Regions from separate parts of the Homo sapiens genome. Here all the other regions are linked to region 1. Evidence: promoter capture Hi-C in human tissues and cell types (Jung and others, 2019). All regions are on one chromosome and are shown on one strand. The core of a region is centred on a gene start or on the middle of the fragment in contact, and the rest is flanking DNA. Distances in the headings are between cores, read along the strand shown. Region 1 holds the start of SHCBP1 (SHC binding and spindle associated 1). Region 2 overlaps VPS35 (VPS35 retromer complex component). Region 3 overlaps SHCBP1 (SHC binding and spindle associated 1).

The links. The method cuts DNA at HindIII sites, captures the fragments that hold promoters and counts their contacts. A contact is called where the count stands out against the background at its distance.
Region 2: a fragment that was not itself captured here is called in contact with the fragment with the promoter of SHCBP1 in region 1 in 1 of the 25 tissues and cell types used here (H1 embryonic stem cells).
Region 3: a contact is called between a fragment that was not itself captured here and the fragment with the promoter of SHCBP1 in region 1, in 1 of the 25 tissues and cell types used here (H1 embryonic stem cells).

The regions. Positions count from the first base shown.
Region 1 is chr16:46,619,234-46,623,299 of GRCh38, forward strand. SHCBP1 (SHC binding and spindle associated 1) reads right to left here and starts at 2,146. Exons shown (of 13, transcript NM_024745.5): 1 at 2,024-2,146. The coding sequence starts at 2,126. It also overlaps the pseudogene RAB43P1. RefSeq lists enhancers at 1,289-1,877, 1,878-2,464. The HindIII fragment of the contact is 15,901 bases long and covers 1-4,066 here.
Region 2 is chr16:46,670,538-46,674,603 of GRCh38, forward strand. VPS35 (VPS35 retromer complex component) reads right to left here. Exons shown (of 17, transcript NM_018206.6): 9 at 4,027-4,066; 10 at 3,777-3,925; 11 at 1,728-1,935; 12 at 1,168-1,323. Among named protein-coding and RNA genes, the nearest start is that of VPS35, 17 kb to the right of the region's middle. RefSeq lists a silencer at 2,950-3,119. The HindIII fragment of the contact is 3,907 bases long and covers 144-4,050 here.
Region 3 is chr16:46,580,321-46,584,386 of GRCh38, forward strand. It overlaps SHCBP1 (SHC binding and spindle associated 1), which reads right to left. Exons shown (of 13, transcript NM_024745.5): 11 at 3,683-3,769; 12 at 3,196-3,337; 13 at 1-1,734. The coding sequence ends at 1,409. Among named protein-coding and RNA genes, the nearest start is that of SHCBP1, 39 kb to the right of the region's middle. The HindIII fragment of the contact is 4,695 bases long and covers 17-4,066 here.

The sequences.
Region 1 (4,066 bases), core at 896-3,395:
TGAAACAACTACTAAATAAGCAATGCTAAAAAGGGTAGCATTTAGAATGTAGAGTAGTCTCCAGAAGTGGTTTCAGGGAAGGTATCTGAGCTGTTAGCAGATACCTTTTTTCTCCCTCCCCCTTGATTTTCTCCTTCCCTTTCCCCCTTCCTTCCATTTCTTTGTCCCTGTTCAGGCCACCAGAAGTACTTGACCCACAGATGACCAAAGTGTACTCAAGGGTCTACTGCTCACAAACACTGATGCACATGAACCTTAGAAGGCATCAGTACCTTACTGGTTATGTGACAATGCCTCAGCTTCCTCACCTATAAAGGGAAGATAATAGTACATCCACTTCAATTAAGAAGATTAATTGTTAATAATTTACAACAGTGCCTATTACATAATGTATATGTTTGTTAAAGAAATAGTAGTACTTCAGCACCATTCTTTTTTTTTCCAGCACCATTCTTTATAGCTTTATGGAGGTATAATTAACATATAGAAGTTATATACATTTAAAGTGTATAACCTGATGGCCAGGCACGGTGGCTCACACCTGTAATCTCAGCACTTTGGGAGGCCGAGATGGGCGGATCACCTGAGGTTAGGAGCTCGACACCAGCCTGGCCAACAGGGTGAAACCCCGTCTCTACTAAAAATACAAAAATTAGCTGGGTGTGGTGGCGGGCGCCTATAATCCCAGCTACTTGGGAGGCTGAGGCAGGAGAATCATTTGAACCCGGGAGGCAGAGGTTGCAGTGAGCTGACATTGTGTGCCACTGCACTCCAGCCTGGGCAACAGAGTGAGACTCTGCCTCAAAAAAAATAAAATAAAATAAAAAATAAAGTGTGTAACATGATGTTTTGATATACCTATACATTATGAAATGATTACCACAGTAAAGTGAATTAATATTTCCATCACCTCGCATAGTTACCTTTTGTGTGTGTGTGGTGTGAACACTTATGATCTACTCTGTTAGCAAATTTCAAGTACAAAATTTGTGTCGCATTGCACCATCACGTCATTGCCTATTAATACTGTAATAATAATACAGTATTATTAACTATAGTCACCATGCTGTATGTACATCAGATCCCCAGAACTATTCACACTGCATAACTGAAACTTTGGACCCTTTGCCCAGCATCTCCCCATTCCCCCAACCCACTGGCAACTACCACTCTACTCTCTTTCTGAAACTTCCTCTTTTTTAGATTCCCAATATAAGCGATGCCATGCAGTATTTATTTTTGCAGCCACTTTAAAAACTTTATTTCACTTCAACTTCACCACAAGTACAACCATTGGCATAGTCTTCCAGATGGGAAAACTGAAGCCAAGTGACTTTTGCCAGTTGGATAGGTGGGTTAATAGTGGAATTGTCACACTTATGTTTTCTCACTTTGTTGGGACTCTCTGCTACACAATACAACCGAAAGTGTTAACGTAAAAACATGAACCAGCTTAAAATATCAGAAAAAAAAAATAGTAATGAAACTCTATGAGGAGGAAGAAAGGGCAGAGAACTAGAAGACCCCGGTTCTATTTCTGGACTCCGGCCCAAGTTGGCGCTCCTCACTTTGGACACGTCACTACCCTCCGTGCACAGGACAGCCATCTAAGCCAAGGGTTCAAGCTTTTCTCTTCTTCGGAAAAGGGAAGTGTGGTTCGTGATCTCCTTTGAGATGCAGATGAAAAAATGGCCCCTTGAGCAACAGTAAATGCACAGTTCCCGCAAAACCCATCCAGATAGGGAATTCCTGGCCCAATCCAGCTCCCTCCAACCTCGGGGCGGGCGGAGGCCAGAGAGTGCAGGGAGAGTGGGAGATGCGGATAGGGAAGAGAGGGAGTCCCCCACCCCTGGGTACCGCCCGACTTTGAGGTCCCGTCACTGGGTCCCGGCCGCGCACCGCCGTTCCCGCCACCCTGGACAGACGGGTCCGGAAGGCCCGCGACCCAGGCGCCCTCCTAGGGTCCCGACGCCCCAGGCCTCCGCTCAGAGGCGGCTCCTCGGCCCCGGCATGGAGAGCTCACCTTTCTCCAGAGACGCCAGCTCCTGCTCCACCGCCCAGCCCATGCGCTCCGGCGCCATGGCCGCTGCCTCCAGACCGCCGCCCGTCAGCGACCCGTCAGCCATTTCAAATTTCCGCGGACGGCAGCCCAGGCAACGACGTGATGACGCAGGCTCTGCTGATTTGATAGTCGGGCCGAGGCCGTGGACCAATTAGAGTCCGGCCCCGCTCCAGCCCCCACCAACACTGCCCCCTCGCCCCAGGCTGACAGCTGTTCTTGTTCAAGTGCCCGGCCTTTGCTTTTCTGGGATGAACTTGAAGAAAGTCGAATTGGAATATAATTTGGAATGATTTTCGAAAAAAACGAACCAGCAATGCCTGGAAATGAGATATAGTGGAAAAGTCACTGGGTTGAGAGTCAAAAAACATAGTATTTAAACTTACCTGGGCTATTCCTAGTGGTATTGCCTTGGGCAAGTCATTTCACCTCCCACAAGCACAACTTCAACTGAAAAGGATGCTGGCCTACGTGGGCCCAAAACTTTCACCACCAAACACCAGTCTCTCTCTGTCTTTCAATACACACACACACACACACACACACACAGAGAGAGAGAGAGAGAGAGAGAGCATATTTTCAAAGAATGTCAAATTAAATTTAGTAAGTAAATTTGTTAATTTGCATTAATCAAAGACAACTATAATCTCCATCATAATGGCTAACATTTACTGCATATTGTGTGCAAGATACCCTCCTGCATGCGTTACCTGGATTGTTCTGTTTAATCTTCACAATGATCCTATGAGACGGGAGCTATTACTATACCCATTTTACAAATGAGCAAATGGAGTCACTAAGAAGTTAAGTCACTTCTCCAATCTAACCCAGCAAAGCCAGGATGTGAAACCAGCCAGACTCCATGAAGAAGCCTTTTAATGTCTCTGCCAGGCCATCACTACTAGAATGATGAGGTCAGCCCAAGATAGCCCAGGTAACCAGGACACCAAGTGGGATGCGTCCACAGGGGACCAAGAGCCTGGTCATGACAGTTCGTCTGTGCAGTCTTAATGTGGGGAAACATTTCCACTTATTGCTTTGAAGAAACACCTTGGGCTAAAGTCTCTCGGATCCCTTACAGCTGAAATAAAATGGAGCCAGGAGGGGTGACTGGAAAGCTGCACTTAATTGGGCTAACTTTTCCAGGAAGTAAGATTTCTTTGACTTTTGTTTGCAGAATCTGACCTTACATTTATTTGCTCACTGAACAAATACATATTGAGCACCATGAGGTAAAAACACAGAAAACAATAATCAAGACTATCAACAGGCCTTGAGGATGACGCTAGCTTTTTCATTATTCTCTTCTTCAACCTTGCCGCCCACAAACCTCACAAATGGCAGCATTTCTCCTCACCCATTTGCAGCATCACTGGAGACAACACAGTTCTCTTCTCATCCAATTATCAAATATTTCATCAACCATCAAGATATTACTCAAACCAGGCTAGGCATAGTGGCTCATGCCTGTAATCCCACCACTTTAGGAGACCGAGGCAGGCGGATCACTTGAGTCCAAGAGTTTGAGACCAGCCTAGGCAACATGGTGAAACCCCATCTCTACAAAATTTTTTTTTTTTTTTTGTTATAGAAATCTGTTTAATGGTTTAGGAATGTGTACACTCTGGCTCTGCCAAGTTTCCATAAAGGCAACTTTTCCATGTTTTAAAAAATAGATTTGGTATAAAGATTTGTATATTCATAAATAGGTGGCATGAAAAATTACCAAATGCAAATGGAATACTTGCGCTGACTGAAGCCCTGTTCACCCCAAGTCCAGGCCCTGCAGGGGTCCGAGGGTCTCTGCTGGAGGAGGCCCCAACTCCGGCAGCCTCTTAGGGAAGAGAAACTGAATTAAATGTGTATTAGGAACCCCTCCAGCTCCTTAAGCCAGCGTCGCACTGGCCCCACCGAGGCCTCAGCCCACCTCCCTCTGCTTCCCCCCGCCACCTCCACCATTGCCCCCTCCCCTGCACTCTGGCCCCTGACCCCACCTGCTCCCACTCT
Region 2 (4,066 bases), core at 847-3,346, 51 kb after region 1:
GCCTCTCAAAGTGCCAGGATTATAGATGCGAGCCACCATGCCCCGCCGGAAGGAATAGTTTCTAACTACTATATTTGGTAGGCAATAGAAAATGAAAACACACAGATACAAACAATCTCACACAGAAACATAAGGCAATCAGTTAAAATACTTAAGACAGTCACTCTGTACAGATCACATAGCTCACAGAGCACAATACCACAGTCCTGGAATGTTTGTCACTAAACCAAGACAAAGACCATCACACTATCAACAGAAGTCAGCCTCTTATTTCACACTGATTATGAAGTACAGGTGTGTCAACTACAATGAAGAAAGTCAACAGAAAGGGATGAGACAGTCAGGACATCCTCAAGCAAATGTCTTTTTCATCATAGCAGCCTAATAGCCTTATGCATCCAAGAATGGTTAAACTACTTTGCCCAAACAATAATTAAGCAGCCAACTGTGCTAACCCTTCACTAAAATAAACTATCTATCTAGTATCGGTCACTGATACACCTACTCAGGCAACATGTTTTATCCATTTCACAATGATTCCCTGTGGACTAATAATAAAGAGAGAACCTCATGTGATTGTTCTTTATCAGAAAAAAAAAAGTTAAGAAAAAGGCAAAATGAATTTTTAAATCTTTCATCAAAAAACAAAAACTCACATTTTCAATATGACAAATATAATTTATACTTGCAAATTTGGAAAAGTAAAATTAAATATAAGAATTGTATTTCTTATAAAGTTTATTATAAGCAATACATAGTTCAGAAAAAATGAACATGGAATAATTATCGGCACTCAAGCAAAAGAAGACAGACTTTTTTGTAATTCTCAGAGAGTCTTCAAAAGAAATCAGAGCAACTGAATTGTTACTCACATGCTCCAGAAGTTTACAAACAATTATGTGTTTATATATAAAGTAAAAGCCCATGGATGCCATGAATCTTTTTTTTTTTCGAGATGGAGTCTCGCTGTGTTGCCCAGGCTGGAGTGCAGTGGCACAATCTCGGCTCACTACAACCTCCGCCTCCCAGGTTCAAGTGAATCTTTAATTCAGTTGCAATTCCTTCAAAACCATCTAAGACCAGAAAGTGAATTAAACCATTTTAAGCACTTGAACATGTGATTTCACTAGGAGCTGATACAGGGATATACTAAGGGTAAACTCATACCAAGTACTGCTGGTCAGGGTCCTCAGAGCGCAGCAGATGAATGAAGCGGCCCACAAGGCTCTGCTCATCAGCAAAATCTTCTGGATCAGGGTCTTCTACAGGTTGATCTGGCTGATCTTGAATCAACGTGGATACCAAATTCATTATGGAATCCACCTGTAACATGCGAGGCACAAGAAACCCACTGAGGTGAAACCATTGGCATACAAAGCCATTATCAAAAGTGTTTCCAGTTATAAAATTACAATACAGTATCAACAAGATATTCCTTTTTTTGGTGAGAAAGTCGATACACATGTATGTCATACACACATATACAGACAAAAGTCTGGAAAGATATGCACCAAATGTTAATTAACAGTGGTTATTCTCTATCTGGTGGAATTATAAATGTTTTATAATTCTTTATACATCTCCAATTTTTAATTTATATAATGAAAAAGTTACTTGTAAATTTTATTTAGTATTGAATTACCCTCCCCTCCCATCTCAGGTATCTAGGTCCAAAGTCTAAAATTGTAACACTGTTTCCCTAAAATAGCACGTAGGTATTCTCTTACCTGGTCTTGAGAGACAATTTCTGTGTTATAATCCAGAACATTACTAAGCACATAACAACTCATGCTCTTTCTGGACTCGTAGTCAAAGTACTCAAAGAGTGGGTGAAAATGTTTTAATTTCAAGACTGTTAAAATATTGTTGTAAGTGTCAACTGGTATTTTCAAAAGTCTGGTGAGTTCCTTTGAAACTGCACTACTGGTAGCAATACTACAAAAAGAAAAACAGAAGTCTTAATGAATAAAATTAACTTTCTATATACACAAATAGCATTTGTTCCATAAGAATTTGAAATTTTTCATTACACATTAAAGGAAATGGGTCAAGTGAATCATACCACCACAGAAGACTATAACAACCTCCTTTCAGGAGGATAAAAATGCTTATCTAAACACAAATATATATTCATCTATTATTTTTCTGTTGATACAAAACTAGATACAGTTTCCAACTCATGAACAGATGGTATAGCTGGAGTTAAGATGACTGTCTAGAATTTGATGACATTTCTAAGGGAAGTATTTTAAGTGGTAGTTTGGTTCCCAGGGGCCAGCCAACAAGTATTGTATATTCATGATGAAAATAAATAGGAAAAAAACTCCATGCAAAACCAGCAATTTGACACAACAGAAAAACACATAAACTATTTCTTCTGCATCAGATGTTGGTGATTAAGGAAAAGCAGGCTGACTGACTTTTACGTAGTTGTTAGTAAAATCATTCTGTAGATATTGAGGCATATTGGGGCATTTATTACAACCTCTTTAGAGGTTGTTATTTCTAATTACTTTGTCTATTTTTACTTTAAAATTCACTTGGGGAGAAAGACACAGATACATCATTTAGTTTTTTTAATTTAAATTTTTTTTATTTTTAATTTTATTTTTTATTAGAGACGGGGTCTCGCTATGTTGCCCAGGCTGTTCTCAAACTCATGGACTCAAGTGATTCTCCCAATTCAGCCTCCTGAATAGCTGGGATTACAGGTGCAAGCCACCACACCTGGCACATCATTTAATTTTCTCTCACACTTATCATTCCACATCTGGACTTGTTTTCAGTTTGCACACACACAAAACCAAAAATGACCAAAAGAACAAGGGTAACACAAAGGGAGGAAAAAAAGAAGAAATTTTCTTGATGCAGGTAAACCACTGGAAGGGAGATAGAAAGGAGGAAGATTACATGAGGTAAAATTCTGAAGAATATGTTGGCGGGAGGCAGGCCTGGCTTGACCCAAGCCAGAGCAGTGGGGAACAGGGCAGGAAGGGAACTGCTGGGGAAGGTAACAGGATCATAGCTGCCCATAGTGGCCACTAGAGGACGCCATAAGTCTAGGACAGAACAGCTGAGGAGGCTTCAGGTTGGAAATAGTACTGTTGATATTTCCTTTAAGGTATCAAAATCAAAGCTCAAAATAGAAAAGATATTTAAACCAATTTAATTCTGCACCTTAAATATACATAGCCCCTCATTTTTCACCATGTGCTGATTCGTAGGAAAACACCACTTATGGAAATAAATACTGCCTGACAAAGTTTCCTTACCAGTTTAAGAACAAACTCAGTCACATGCAAGCTTGTCCAACCCAAAGCCCACAGGCCGCATGCAGCCCAGGATGGCTTTGAATGCGGCCCAACACAAATTCGTAAACTTTCTTAAAACATTATGAGTTTTTTTGGGATTTTTTTTTTAAGCTCATCAGCTATTGTTAGTGTTAGTGTATTTTATGTGTGGCCCAAGAAAATGCTTCTTCCAGTGCAGCCCAGGGAAGCCAAAAGATTGGATGCCCCTGACACACAGAAAGGGATCCAAATTGGAGACACTGGTCCCTGAAGACTGCCTATGGTCCATAGGTACCACAATTTCCTTAATATAAAAAAACAAGTAATTGGTCACTACTTTCTGCCCCTAGTAGTGCTAAGCATGACAATCTTAATGCATGATTAAAACAAGACAAATGCCAGCAGTTCAAAAAACAATTGAGAAAGAAAAGCAAATCTAGGACAAAAATATCTTTGAGGATTTTTACAAAAATGTAACTGACTTACTGTTCAAGGTTGAGCTTATTGAATATCTCCACTGTTGTTTCTAGAACTTTATCAACATAGTCCACACGATCAGGGTAACATTTCATGGCAAGATTAATCAGAGAGACTTGTAAAGATACAACATCCTCTGAAGGCATGTCTTGTCTAGACTGGAATGTTTAGAAAACCACACAATTTATTTTAAACAATTGTAAAAGGAAGGCAGAGAAGTTTCAAAGTTTTGAGAACTTAGGAGAAATGCTACACAAACCTGTATCACTGTAGCCACCTGCTGTGAAAATATATCAAAA
Region 3 (4,066 bases), core at 1,114-3,613, 39 kb before region 1:
TGATCAAATAATAAATCTAACATAAATCCTACATTTAGTAGCATCCAAAAAATAAGAATTATTTTTTACTCAAATTTAAAAAACAAACATAACCACACTTAATGGGAAAAAATGTAATACTCTTTCTAAAGCATGAAAACAGATACCAAAATACCATGTATTCTTAAATGACCACATATGCTACACTGACACTATGGCCCACAGTGAGTTTGAAAAGATATAACAAGATTCAATTTTGTTATTTCATCACTATAATTTTAATCATTAGGCATATTAATGTCACATACAGTTTTTAAAATATAAATATTTTTAAAGCTGTTTTACAATATGATAACAAGAACACCCAGCAGATACAGGTTGTACAGTTAATCATTTTGACTGTGTCAGTAATATAATCAGAATACTGTAACGGTAAGAGAAAAATACTTTTTTTTTTTTTTGAGACTGGGTCTCGCTCTGTCGCCCAAGCTGGAATGCAGTGGCGCAATCACACCTCACTGCAGCCTCAACCTCCTGGGCTCAAGGATCCTCTAGCCTCAGCCTCCTGAGTAGCTGGAACTACATGCATGCACCACCACACTCAGCTAATTTTTTTTAAATTTATTTTTAGTAGAGACAGGGTCTCACTATGTTGCCTAGGCTAGTCTTGAACTCCTGGGCTCAAGTGATCCTCCTGCCTCAGCCTCCCAAAGTGCTGCGATTACAAGCGTGAGCCACCGCCTGGCCCGAAAAATACCTTGTTTTTAATCATTCCCATTCAGCAATAGTGAAAATGCTCTATGTACAACATTGGCTCTGAATAACACATTTCATTTCTGCTTCAAACCTCCTATGCTGTCTATCGCTGTTTTGACGACTGCATAGCTCAACAGAAAAATGCGTCCCATTGACGTCTCAATAATAAGTCTGATTAGGCAGATAAATTCCCAATCATAAAAGCTTTTATTTTAAGACAAGTATTATGCAAATACAGGATGGAAATCAGACTCACTGTAATTGGGATGAAAAGGCAACTCTAAGAAGAATGCTGTACATATGACACCTATTGCATTTTTATGCACTAGTCTTGCATTCCCTTCCTTACTTCCTCGTCTTTGAAGTGCTAAAGGTAATTACACTAAAAAGTTACTACCAGGCTTAATATGAGAGAACCATGTGTATAAGAAAGCAAGACTTTCAGATAAGCAATCTCCAAATATTTTCTATTTTATATGCATTTATGATTTTTCTTATAAAGAGGGAGTGTTTTATGTGCAACACCTGCAAATGGAAATAAATCTACCTTTCACTCAAGCCCAAATAATCAAATATAAAATACAGACAATACAGCAAACTACAATGGCAGCAGTGATTCTTAGGGCAGCATGTGCAAAATCCAGTATTTTGCTATCTACTTACATCACTGTAGTCAGAAAAGAAATGTGCCAAAACTACCTTTCCCATTCCACTTGAACTGGTTCCCCACAATCCCAACAAACATCTCCTGTGACATTAAGTTGTCATCAGCTTGCGTGATCCCCAGTTCACTCAACCTTTTCTTCTTTATCTGGCCTTTCTGTGTGGAGGCAGCAATTAGTTCATTTACAATTTCACAATTTCCCTCGACTTGCTCAGAAGGGTCAGTTCTTGCACAAAGCTCCATTTTACCAGTTGCACACTCAATCAGCTCTTCTAGATCCACTCTTTCAGCCACATCTGGCTCTCCACTTGTCTGAATTTTAAGCGCTTTATTTTCTGGAGAAACAAACAAATAATAACAAAGTTAAATATACAAGCTAACCCAACAAAAACATATATTTCTACACAGTCTTCTCAACAAGCAGCTGCCTTGCTTTCTATACCAAGGTTCCCTGACCCTCACACAGGATCACCAATTTTGAACTCTTCCTTTACCCTTTTCATCCCAGAATCACTTTTACTCAACAGACATTTCCTGGATAGTTACTATCTGCTAAGCACTGCGTTAGGAGATAGGATGCACAGATTGATAAGATAGTGCCACTTTTCTAAATGAAGTCCCAATCTAGCAGCTAATTCTAGATAGGCCCCATGATCCCCACCCCCTGGTATTACTTTCATGCCTATTAAATGGCAGAAGAATTTTGCACTGTAATTTTACAATGTAATTAAGATTGCTAATCAGTTTTCTCCAGCTGGTTGCTAAAGAGGAAGTCAGAGAAATTCAGAGCATGAGAGATTTGCCTTGAGGGATGTTCTCTGTTGCTGAGATGGGGGGGCCATGAGGCAAGAACCTGAGAGCAGCCTCTAGGAGCTGAGTGCCAGCCCCAGCAAACAGCCAGCAGCCAGCAAGAAAATGGAGACTTCAGACCCATGAGCTAAAGGAATGAATTCTGCCCATGAATGATATGAATGCGTTTGGAGACAGAGTCTGCCCCCAGAGCTTTCAGATGAGTCCTGCCCAGCTGACACCTTTATTTTACTTTTGTGAGACCTGTGAAGAAATAAAGAACTTGCAGAGATGTAACTGGAGCAGATCCTGAAGGATGACAAGGACTACCCTTTAAACTCTTTCAACCTGAAAAAGCTGATTAAATAAATAAACTGCTTTAAACTTTCCTCACCTACATCAAAGCTTAATCCTTCTCTATGACTGAGACTTAATAGTGGTCTACATCATAGCTTGAAGTTCACAGATTTCCACTGAGTTAGCTCCCCTTCGCTGCCAAGAAAGGCAGGTGACAGGAAGGCATTTACTTCTACCAATAAAAACAGAGGTAAACTCCACTATCCCCTCCAGGAAATGCAGCCTTCAGCCTGGCACATTCATTTCACTGTCTCCAGCCTTAACAAACGCCAGTAGGAGCCACCATTGCTGTCACACACCCACTGTTGCTGTCACACACCCACCATAGCATCACACACCCACCATTGCTATCACACACCCATCGTTGCTATCACACATCCACCCTCATTGAAAGCTAACCATGATAAGAAGGGAACTGCACAGAAACCACAACATCAAGATTTTGAATGACAGTTGAACTAGTTGACCTTGAAAGTTTCTTTCACAGTCTGTAATGTTATGACTTAATGTTACCAAGCTTCTCTCTCTCCATGCCCAAGCATATCCCAACAACCTTTTTTAAGGAAGAGAGGAAGACTCAGATCCTTAATCAGCATTTAATGCTGAAATAAATTATGTCTGGTTTTTATATTAAAAATTACTAAATATACCTTCAGTTCCATCTTCAGCATTTTCTTGCAGGTCAGAGAAGATTGTAGGTTTCACCAAGACAACACCATAACCTTCATTATTATGTATTATATTATTCACCATGGATATCTTGGGAATGTCATAATGTTCATCTAAGAAGTCCTGTGACATTGAAAACAAATGTTTTAGGAACTGTCATATTCAACATTTCCTGCCTTAAAAATCTTCTTTATTCACACTATTCTAAAAATAAAAGGAAAAAGCTATGTTTAGTCCCATGTTGTAGCACAGTCTGCACCCTTAGTGACACAGCTTTCCTCTGTCATTTCTGCAGATCTATAGGTAACAGCATTCTCACAAGAGATTCCAATCACTGATATTATCAAAATGTGTACACTGTTTATGCTTTTCAAAACCAGAAAATAGAACCCAACAATTTAATAAAGCATAATTTGTAGGTAAAACCATTCTATCCATTGAAAAGTGGGTGTTTTGGCTGATGCTCACCTTAATGAGGATCCCTTCCTTGCAGTGATGGATCCCATTGTCACTCAGGGTGCACTGACTCCCAGGGTAGATTTCTATACCAGCACCCTGTGAGTCACAGTTTGAGATAATGACAATCAGTTTTTAAAAGGCAAGACTATAAGAGTTTATTACAATTACTTCTTAGCCTTTAACACAGTACAAATGTACAGCACAAAGATAAAGTACTTTACAGATAAGTTTTACCAGCCATTTTTAATCAACATTTCCATTTGTTCCATTTCTAGCAAGTTGTTGACAATTTATCATTTTCAAAACCACACACACACACACACACACACACACACACGCTAAGAGTGCCAACACTTGATTCTTGCTCTACTCTCTTTCATTCTAGATAAATGT